Linked DNA regions of Homo sapiens: regions 2 and 3 are each linked to region 1. Evidence: promoter capture Hi-C in 16 types of primary human blood cells and fetal thymus (Javierre and others, 2016). All regions are on one chromosome and are shown on one strand. Each heading gives the region's core, a stretch centred on a gene start or on the middle of the fragment in contact. The rest is flanking DNA. Distances are from core to core; before and after follow the strand shown. Region 1 holds the start of LRRC31 (leucine rich repeat containing 31). Region 2 has its middle 13 kb from the start of CLDN11. Region 3 overlaps SKIL (SKI like proto-oncogene).

Evidence for each region. The method cuts DNA at HindIII sites, captures the fragments that hold promoters and counts their contacts. A CHiCAGO score of 5 or more calls a contact.
Region 2: a fragment that was not itself captured here is called in contact with the fragment with the promoter of LRRC31 in region 1 in 1 of 17 cell types (neutrophils); the score reaches 6.9 in neutrophils.
Region 3: a fragment that was not itself captured here is called in contact with the fragment with the promoter of LRRC31 in region 1 in 3 of 17 cell types (neutrophils, naive B cells and total B cells); the score reaches 6.7 in neutrophils.

Annotation. Positions count from the first base shown.
Region 1 is chr3:169,867,899-169,871,597 of GRCh38, reverse strand. LRRC31 (leucine rich repeat containing 31) reads left to right here and starts at 1,663. Exons shown (of 9, transcript NM_024727.4): 1 at 1,663-1,965. The coding sequence starts at 1,791. The HindIII fragment of the contact is 9,706 bases long and covers 1-3,699 here.
Region 2 is chr3:170,403,712-170,407,410 of GRCh38, reverse strand. No RefSeq gene overlaps it. Among named protein-coding and RNA genes, the nearest start is that of CLDN11, 13 kb to the left of the region's middle. The HindIII fragment of the contact is 3,286 bases long and covers 473-3,699 here.
Region 3 is chr3:170,384,106-170,387,804 of GRCh38, reverse strand. It overlaps SKIL (SKI like proto-oncogene), which reads right to left. Exons shown (of 7, transcript NM_005414.5): 4 at 3,040-3,272. Among named protein-coding and RNA genes, the nearest start is that of SKIL, 28 kb to the right of the region's middle. RefSeq lists a silencer at 3,088-3,288. The HindIII fragment of the contact is 1,974 bases long and covers 346-2,319 here.

The DNA.
Region 1 (3,699 bases), core at 414-2,913:
GAGGATAAAAAAGTGAAACCATTTACTGAGCTAGCTCCCCAGAGAATAGCCCTGTCTAAATCTCCAAATGGTGAAATTGGCTGAAAATGACCATGGAGGTGTCCTGGGTGGGGGGCCAGAAGAGTAGCAAATTGAGAAAGGCCTGGGGTGATGGTGGAATCAGGGTGAGGCAGCCAGGGCTGCAGGTCATGTTTAGATTTATGAGTTAGCGCCCCTTTCCTTCTTCTTTTCCACCTAACCCCCTGAGACTCTAGTCAGCTGTGCTGCTGTGCATGGAGTAATTGTTTAGTTCCACTGCTGTCTGTTGCTGGGTAAACCAGGGCTGGGCCCTGCTCTAATATGAAAGGAAGATTTTAAAAGAAAAATGGAATGTCCAATTGTGACTTCCAAAGCAGTGCTCCAAGTGCATGGAACATTCCAGCCCTCACGAGTGGAGGTGGGCTCTGCAAGGTCCATTTTTAGGATTCCCTGTGTAAAATGTTTCTTGGACCATTCTGGAACATAATGTTACAGAAAGAGCTATTTTATTAGAGAGGAGACTATGAAAACTGTAATTTCAAGAATACTTCTGCTGGGCATGATGGTTCACACCTTTAAGCCCAGCACTTTGGGAGGTCGAGGTGGGCGGATCACTTGAGGCCAGAAATTCAAGACGAGCCTGGCCAACATGGTGAAAATCCATCTCTATGTCAAAACAAAACAAAACACTTCTGTGTATCCCTTTAGTTTAAGTCCTTAGCCCTCCCATAAAATATAAGCAAATTTCAGGAGAGATAATAGATTGACCTTTACGAATCCTTTTTAGCTTCAATTCATACCAGACCTCACCCCTAACCTCCACACCCCCTGACCCACATCCCCACCTCCAATGCTAGGCTCTTCCAGCCGTTCCTGCCTGGGAGCTCTTGAGCTTACCCTTTCTTCTGCCTGGGATACTCTTCCCTCTCTTAAAAAGCTAACTCGCAGTCCTTCAAAACCCAGGCAATGTCACTCACTGTTCCAAGTCTGTTCTCCAAGGCATGCTTAGTTTACTGTGGGTTCCCTGACCACCTCCCATCTCTTGGCTCTTGTCCCACTCAATCAATGGCATACAGGTCCATCTTCCCACCAGGTTAAGATCCCATCAAAGACAAGAACTGTCTCTTGTTCGTCATTGAATCTTTTGCATTTAGAACATTAACTGGCCCACAGTAGATTCTTTAAAACTATTTATGGAATGAATGAATTCTTTACTGCCAACATGTTTCAGTGGGGTGGTGGTGCAGGGTTGGGGGTAGAGAAAATATGAATATGCAAAGAGAAAAAGGAGCTTATGTGCAAAGGAAGGAGGTGGGGGTCACCAGAAGGCAGAGGTCGCTGAAGGCAAACTCCTCTGGGGACAGCTTTGCAAATGGCCAGTCCCTTTTAAAGGCATATTAAGTCTTCAGGTAACTAATTGACAGCTGTAATTTAAGATGTGTTGACACACTTGATGTGCTTGCCAAAGTCATGCTTAATGACTTGTATCTCACACAATGAAATAGGGCAAAGTTAAAAACTCAAATTGCTTTGAGTTTGTATTGGCTTCTGGATCCTGGGTTACATCATTCTTATTTTCATGTTAAACATTAACAGCAATAAAAAAACAGAAAAAGAAAGGTGGTGCGGCAGGGAGTGGGGGGCAGTCATGTAGGGGAGGATATTTTGATTGAACACAGGCTTGACAGAATCTTCTTTTCTTCTTAGAAATCCTAGAAAACAGAAAGCAACAGGAAGATGTCTTATTGGGAACTACCCCCATCAACTTCACCATGAGTCAAACAAGGAAGAAAACTTCCTCAGAAGGAGAAACTAAGCCCCAGACTTCAACTGTCAACAAATTTCTCAGGGGCTCCAATGCTGAAAGCAGAAAAGAGGACAATGACCTTAAAACAAGTGATTCCCAACCCAGCGACTGGATACAGAAGACAGCCACCTCAGAGACTGGTAAGCTGCTGGCTGCTGGTGTTTTTGCTGTTGTATTTGTTTTGTTTTTACTTCCACATTTAAAATATTTTTATTTTTAATTTTTGTGGGTACATAGTAGGTGTATATATTTATGGGGTATATGAGATGTTTCAATACAGGCATGCAATGCCTAATAATCATATTGTGGAGAATGGGGTATCCATCCCCTCAAGCATTTATCCTTTGTGTTACAAACAATCCCATTATACCTTTAGTTTTATTTATTTATTTATTTATTTTGAGACAGAGTTTCACTCTTGTCACCCAGGCTGGAGTGCAATGGCGTGATCTCAGCTCATAGTAACCTCTGCCTCCCGGGTTCAAGCGATTCTCCTGCCTCAGCCTCCCGAGTAGCTGGGATTACAGATGCGCACCACCATGCCCAGCTAATTTTTGTGTTTTTAGTAGAGATGGGGTTTCACTGCATTGGCCAGGGTGGTCTCGAATTCCTGACCTCAGGTGATTTTCCTGCCTTGGCCTCCCAAACTGCTGGGATTACAGGTGTAAGCCATCACACCAGGCCTCTTTTAGTTATTTTTAAATGTGCAATAAATTATTGCACATTTAAAAATAACTAAAAGAGCACAACGGGTTGTTTGTAAACAAAGGATAAATATAGTCACCCTGTTGTGCTATCAAACAGTAGATCTTATATATTCTATTTTTTCTGTACCCATTAACCATCCACACCTCCCCCACCAACAACACACACACCCTTCCCAGCCTCTATGTTTCTTTATTTTTTAGAGTTTTCTTCTAAAGTGATCTTATGGGTTAAACTAAAGACTTTAAGACTTTTGAGACTAAAGACTCAACTATGAGTCTCTGTGCTAATCATTTATTATGTTACTTACATGCTTTAAATGATTCATAATTTTACTTTTAAATTGTTAAAAGCAATATAACACTACAGAAAAATGTAGGGAAAATACTGAATTTCCTTTCATTATAACACAAACGATCATTTCTTTAAGATTCTTTTCAGTCTTTTCTTTTCATATGCATGCATTTATGTTCTGTCAGTCAGCAGTCAATAAATCTTTATTGAGTGCTTGCTATGTAGTAACCCCTGCTCTAAGTGTTAGAAATACAGCCATGAAAAGGACCAAATGCAGATATAACTTCAGGTGGTGATAAGTGATATGAAGAAAAATAATGCAGGCTAAGGAGACAAAGAATGATGGGATGGGGTGCTATTTAGATGGGGGTGGAGGAAAGAAGTCTTCGATTTGGAGGCATTTGAGCAGCAATCTGAATAAAATCAGCTTTGCTGAATGAATGAATAAAGCGAGCCACTTAGGTATTTGTGCAAATAGCTTTCCAGGCAAAGAGACTGTACATGCAAAGGCTTTAGATACGACTGAGCCTAGAGTGCTTGAGAGAGAGTCAGGAAGTCAGGGATGCTAAAGCAGGATGGGAGACATGGAGAGGAAGGGGTAGTGGAAGACAAGTCAGAGAGGTCGCTGGGGCCAGATTGGCATCTTTTCCACAGTTGTAATAGCTTACAGATTCCTCCTGAGTTTATGTGGAGCTGTGATCCTACTTCTAGAACATATTATTATATTGCTCAATTCCCACATTGCTACATGATGCTCATATGCATAATTTTCATGGTTGCATAATATTCCATCACATTCATATGTCTTAATTACTCAGTGAGTTCCTTGTTTGTCCTTCGGTGAGTATCTTTGGCTTTCTTTCTTTCCCATTCCC
Region 2 (3,699 bases), core at 866-3,365, 540 kb before region 1:
CAAGGATCCCGGGATTTTCAGAATGGTAAATAAGCATTGACTTCAACATAAAGTCAGCAGCTGCATTCGCCCCTAAAGGGAGTCAGGCTCTCTTTTGAAGCTTTGAAACCAGGCATTGACTTCTCTCTAGCAATAAAAGTCCTAGATGGCATCTTCTTCTTCAGATAAGATAAGGTTGTTTCATCTATATTGAAAATCGGTTGTTTGGTATAGTCAACTTTATCAATGATCATAGCTGGATCTTCTGGATAACTTGCTGCAGTTTCTGCATAGGTACTTACTGTTTCACCTTGCACTTTTATATTATGGAGATGGATTCTTTCCTTAAACCTTTGTGTGTTCACTAGAGTTGTACTTTTAATTTCCTTCAAAAACTTTTCGTTTGCATTCACAGCTTGGCTAACTGTTTGGCACAAGAGGCCCAGCTTTCAGCGTATCATGCCATGTTGCAACATTCCTTCCTCACTAAGCTTAACCATTTTTAAGTTTTTATTTAAAATAAGAGAGTTATATATTTTATTATTTATTTTTTTTAATTTTTTTATTTTTTGAGATGGAGTCTCACTCTGTCACCCAGGCTGGAGTGCAATGACGCAATCTCAGCTCACTGCAACCTCCACCTCCCAGGTTCAAATGATTCTCCTGCCTCAGCCTCCTAAGTAGCTGGGTTTACAGGCACGCGCCACCATACCCGGCTAATTTTTGTGCAAAATGGCAGTAGTAAGTCTTTACCTGTCAATAATTACCTTGAATGTAAAGGATTTAAATTCCTCAATCAAAAGGCCTAGGGTAGTAAGGTGGGCTAGGTGTGGTGGCTCATGTCTGTAATCCCAGCACTTTGGAAGGCAGAGGCAGGTGGATTGCTTGAGTTCAGGAGTTCAAGACCAGCCTAGCCAACATGGTGAAACCCAATTTTTACTAAAAATACATGCTAGGCACAGTGGCTCATGCCTGTAATCCCAGCACTTTGGGAGGCCAAGGCAGGCCGATGATTTGAGGTCAGAGTTCTAGACCAGCCTAGCCAACATGGTGAAACCCCACCCCTGCTAAAAATGCAAAAATTAGCCAGGTGTGGTGGCACACACCTGTAGTCCCAGCTACTCAGGAGGCTGAGGCAGGAAAATTGCTTGAACCTGGGAGGCGGAGGTTGTACTGAGCCGAGATGGCACCACTGCACTCCAGCCTAGGCAACAGAGCAAGATTCCATCTCAAAAAAAAAAAAAAAATTAACTATCTTTTCTGACCACAATGGTATGGAACTAGAAATAAATAATAGGAGGAATTTTGGAAAATTCTCGAATATGTGGAAATTAAACAACATGCTCCTGAACAACTGATGGGTCAAAGAAGAAATTAAAAGGAAAATTTTAAAAAATCTTGAGACAAATGAAAACGGAAATAAAATATACCAAGACTTACGGAATACAGCAAAAGCTGTCCTGAAATGGAAGTATATAGCAATAAACTACTACATTAAAAGGAAAGATTCCCCAAAAATCAACCTAATGTTACACCTTAGGGAACTAGAAAAAGAAAAAACTAAGTCCAAAGTCAGTAGAAGAAGGGAAATAATAAAGATAAGACCAGAAATAAATGAAATAGAGACTAGAAAAACAATGCAAAATATCTGTGAAACTCAGAGTTCTTTTTTTAAAAAGATAAAATTGACAAAACCTTAGATGAAGAAAAGAGAGAAAGCTGAAATAAAATAAAGAGATATTACCATTGATATAACATAAACGCAAAGGATGATATAAGACTACTATGAGCAAGTATTGAGTAGTTAAGTAGTACCCAACAAATTGTATAACCTAGAGGAAATGGATAAATTCCTAGACACCTGCAACCTACCAAGATGAAATAAGCAAGAAAATTTGACATACCAATAACAAGTAGAGACTGAATCTTTTAAAAAACAAACAAACAAAAAGTCTCCCACCAAAGAAAAGCCCAGGACCTGATGGCTTCACTGCTGAATTCTTCCCAATATTAAAAAAACTAATACAGGTCAGGCATGGTGGCTCATGTTTGAAATTCCAGCACTTTGGGAGGCTGAGATGGGAGGATTCCTTGAGGCCAGGAGTTTGAGACAAGCCAGGGAAACATAGCAAGACTTTGTCTCTACAAGAAAAATTTTAAAAATTAGACAGTTGTGATGGCACATTTCTGTGGTCCCAGCTACTCAGGAGGCTGAAGTGGGAGAACTGCTTGAGCCCAGGAGTTTGAGGTTACAATGAGCCATGATTGTGCCATTATACACCAGCCTGGGCAACAGAGAAAAACCCTGTCTCAAAAAATAAAAAATAAAGAACTAATAAGGCCGGGCGGGGTGGCTCATGCCTGTAATCCCAACACTTTGGGAGGCCGAGGTGGGGGGATCACCTGAGGTCAGGAGTTCAAGACCAGCCTGGCCAGCGTGGTGAAACCCCATCTCTACTAAAAATACAAAAATTAGCCAGTATGGTGGCAGGTGCTTGTAATTCCAGCTACTTGGGAGGCTGAGGCAGGAGAATTGCTTGAACCCAGGAGGTGGAGCTTGCAGTGAGCCGAGATCATGCCACTGCACTCTAGCCTGGGCAACAGAGTAAAACTCTGTCTCAAAAAAAAAAAAAAAGGGAGAGAGAGAGAACTAATATCAGTTCTTCTCAAACTCTTCCAAAAAAAAAAATTAAAGAAGGAAAACTTCCACACTCATTGTATGAGACCAGTATTACCCTCATTACCCTGATACCAAAAGCAGAGGACACTACAAGAAAAGAAAATCACAGGCCAATATCTCTAATGAACATTGATGTAAAAATCCTCAACAAGGCTGGGTGCAGTGACTCATGCCTGTAATCCCAGCACTTTGGAATGCCAAGGTGGGCAGATCACTTGAGGCCAGGAGTTCGAGACCAGCCTGGCCAACATGGTGAAACCCTATCTCTACTAAAAATACTAAAATTAGCCGGGCACGGTGGCTCACGTCTGTAATCCCAGCACTTTGGGAGGCTGAGGCAGGTGGGTCACCTGAGGTCAGGAGTTTGAGACCAGGCTGGCCAACATGGCGAAACCCCATCTCTACTAAAAATACAAAAAAAAAAAAATTATCTGGGTGTGGTGGCAGGCGCCTGTAATCCCAGCTACTTAGGAGGCTGAGACAGGAGAATTGCTTGAACCCGGAAAGCAGCGGTTGCAGTGAGCCAAGATCACGCCATTGCACTCCAACCTGGGCCATGGAGCAAGACTCTGTCTCAAAAAAAAAAAAAAAAAAAAAAAAAAAAAATTAGCCGGGTGTGGTGATCCACCCCTATTATCCCAGCTCCTCGGGAGGCTGAGGCATAAGACTCGCTTGAACCTGGGAGGTAGAGCTTGCAGTGAGCTGAGATCATGCCACTACACTCCAGCCCAAGTGACAAAGTGAGACTCTGTCTAATAAATAAATAAATAAATAAATAGATCCTCAACAAAATACTAGCAAACCAAATTCAACAACACATTGAAAGGATCATTCACCATGAATAAGTGGGATTTATCCCTGGGTTGTAAGGATGATTTGACATACACAAATCAATAAATGTGCTTTTGTCACGTTAACAGAACGAAGGACAAAAAACATAATTATCTCAATAAATGCAAAAAAGACATTTGACAAAATTCAACATATTTTCATGATTAAAAAAACTCTTAACAAATTAGGTATAGAAATAATGTAACTGA
Region 3 (3,699 bases), core at 83-2,582, 520 kb before region 1:
CCGCCACTACGCCCGGCTAATTTTTTTGTATTTTTTTTTTTTTTTAGTAGAGACGGGGTTTCACCGTTTTAGCCGGGATGGTCTCGATCTCCTGACCTCGTGATCCGCCCGCCTCGGCCTCCCAAAGTGCTGGGATTACAGGCGTGAGCCACCGCGCCCGGCCTATAGCAGCATTATTCTTAATTGCCAAAAAGTAGACCCAATGCAAATGTCCGACTGACGAAGGAATAAAAAAAATGTGGTATATTCACATAATGGAATCTTATCAGGCCATAAAAAGAAGTACTGGTACATGCAACAACATGGACTGTGAAAACATTATCTTTCATGAAAGAAGCATAAGCTTCTTGACCAGACATGAAAAGCCACATATTGTACAATTCCTTTTATATGAAATGTCCAGAATAAGCAAATCCATAAAGATAGAAAATAGATTAGTGGTTGCCAGAGGCTTCGAGAAAGGGAGAATCAGGGAGTGACTCCTAATGGATTATAGGGTTAATTTTTGGAGTGATGAAAACATTATGGGCCGAGGCGGGTGGATCACCTAAGGTCAGGAGTTCAAGATCAGCCTGACTAACATGGCGAAAACCCTGTCTCTTACTAATAATACAAAAAAATTAGCCAGGCGTGGTGACACACGCCTGTAATCCCAGCTACTCAGGAGGCTGAGGCAGGAGAATCGCTTGAACCCGGGAGGCAGAGCTTGCAGTGAGCCGAAATCACCCCACTGCACTCTAGCCTGGGCGACAAGAGTGAAACTCCATCTTAAAAAAAAAGAAAGAAAAGAAAACATTATGGAACTAAATTAGCTGTGATGGTTGCACAACTTTGTGAATGTATTAAAAACCACTGAATTGTAGGCTTTAAAAGGGTAAATTTTATGGTATATAAATTATCTCAATAATTTTTTAGAAGTCATTAGAATTAATTTAAGAAATAAAATACAATGTAAATATGGCATAATAGTCATTACTAATTTTTGTTTACCATATTTAAATCTGAAGAAAACTGAGTTTTAAAAATCTCAAAATTGGCCAGGCATGGTGGCTCACATCTGTAATCCCAATGCTTTAGGAGGCCAAGGCAGGAGGATCACTTGAGGCTAAGAGCTTAATGCCAGCCTGGGCAATACAGTGAGACCCTGTCTCTACAAAAAAAATGAAAAAATGAGGCAGGCGCAGTGGCACATGCCTGTAGTCCTAGCTACTAGGGAGGCTGAGGTGCAAGGACTATGAGCCCAGCAATTTGAAGCTGCGGTGAGCTATGAATGCATCACTGTACTCCACCAGCCTAGAGCAACAGAGTGAGACTCTGTCTCTAAAAAAGAAAAACGAAACAAAAAACCCTCAAAATAAATGTATAGAAAACCCCTGGCCGGGCGCGATGGCTCACGCCTGTAATCCCAGCACTTTGGGAGGCCGAGGCAGGCGGATCACCTGAGGTCAGGAGTTCGAGACCAGACTGACCAACATGGAAAAACCCCGTGTCTACTAAAAATACAAAATTAGCCGGGCGTGGTGGTGCATGCCTATAATCCCAGCTGCTCAGGAGGCTGAGGCAGGAGAATCACTTGAACCTGGGAGGCGGAGATTGCAGTGAGCCGAGATCACACCGTTGCACTCTAGCCTGGGCAACAAATACGAAACTCTGTCTCCAAACAAACAAACAAACAAACAAAAAAACCAGAAAACCCCCACCCAAGAATCAGCCAGGCGTGGTGGCTCACGCCTGGAATCCCAGCACTTTGGTTGGGAGGCCGAGGCAGGCGGATCACCTGAGGTCAGGAGTTCAAGACCAGCCTGACCAACATGGAGAAAACCCGTCTCTACTAAAAATACAAAATTAGCGGGGTGTGGTGGTGCATGCCTGTAATCTCAGCTACTCAGGAGGCTGAGGCAGGAGAATCTGGGAGGTGGAGGTTGCGGTGAGCTGAGATCTCACCATTTTACTCCAGCCTGGGCAACAAGAGTGAAACTCCTCAAAAAAAAAAAAGAAAAAAAAGAAAGAAAGAAAGAAAAGAAAACCCCCAAGAATCTCAATTCTCTATAAAAACTTAAATAAATAGAGGACCCTCCAACTGTTCCAATGCAGCTAAAGTAACTGTCACACTGCCTAATCACTAAGCAAAGCTGTGCTGCTATATGGATGGTAACACAGGCAATATCTGCAGACATGTCTCATTTAATCCACAGTATTTTAAAAGGCACGGTAAGTAACCAGCTATTTTTCTTTTAAATGACCAGTCAATATTCCACATTTATGCTATATGCCTGGCCCCCAGAGCTTTCAATCCTTGCTTTATTCCATAACTAAGCTTCCTTGAGTTCTATACCTAACTACTCTTACTTACATAATACTTCTTATTATTAAATGGTGTCTCAGTTCATGGCAAATCAGAAAGAAAAATAAAGGTTGGGTGCGGTGGCTCACAACTGTAATCCCAACACTTTGAGAGGCCAAGGCAGGAGGATCACTTGAGCCCAGGAGTTCGAGACCAGCTTGAGCAACATACCAAGACCATCTCTACAAAAAAAAAAAAAAAAATTTTTTTTTTTAATTAGCCAGGCACAGTGGTGTGCGCCTCTGGTCCCAGCTACTAGGGAGGGTGAGGTGGGAGGATCACTTGAGCCCAAAGGTTGAGGCTGCAGTGACCGCAATCTCACCACTGCACTTCAGCCTAGGCGATAAAGACTCTGTCACAAAAAAAGAAAAAAAAAGGAGGAAAGAAAAACAAGGATCTCCTGAAGACTGACAGCAAATAAAAGGTAGGAAAGGAAAAAAATTCGGACAAAAATAACTTGCAGTCTGAGGCCAGGTAGCCTGTATCTATCTCAGTCTCCTGAGCTATCACCACGCTAGAAAAGTATAGCAACTGAGATTAAAATAAATCACCCAGAGTTTTGAAGGGTAGCATTTTTAAAGGTAAAAGCTCCAATTATCTGAAAATTTAGCTCAAACAAAAAGCCTGTTTGAAAATGCTCAATAAATGTGTTCATTAGATATTTAATTTTAGAAAGATAATCTCTGAATACTTACCTAAACGGCTACATAATTCTCTACTTGTTTTTAAATCCATTTTCTCCTGTTCCTCAAGTGAGACATCTGGATAAGACACTGTTTTTTGAAGTTTACCACTACTGTGAGCCTTCTCTGACTGTCTTGATATGGACTTACTTGCCTCTGTCTTTGTGAGCTCTTTAGACTGGGATACAGCAGAAGTAAGTGACACATTTGGGGCAACCACTTTATCACACATGTATAAGTAGTAGCTGAAAACAAGTAAAAGCAAAACAAGACATATATTACATATTACAATTAAGTAAAAATCAAATATGTAACATGCATTTCTGTGGTTAAACTTTTTTTTTTCTAACCAAAACAGACAATATTACAACTCAGAAAATAAAGGTCACAGTAAAGAATTCTTAGGAAAAAAATCAACACTTTAGGCATTACAAACAAAATTATAAGGGATTTTTTGTTAGTTTGCAAGTAACCCAGGCTGGAGCGTAGTGGTATGATCATGGCTCACTGTAACCTCTAACTCCTGGGTTCAAGCAATCTTCCTGCCTCAGCATCCCAGGTAGCTGGGACCACACATACCCATTTTTTTTTAGAGATAGGGTCTTGCTATGCTGCCAAGTTGGTCTTGAACTCCTGGGCTCAAGTGATACCCTCCCACCTCCAACTCCCAAA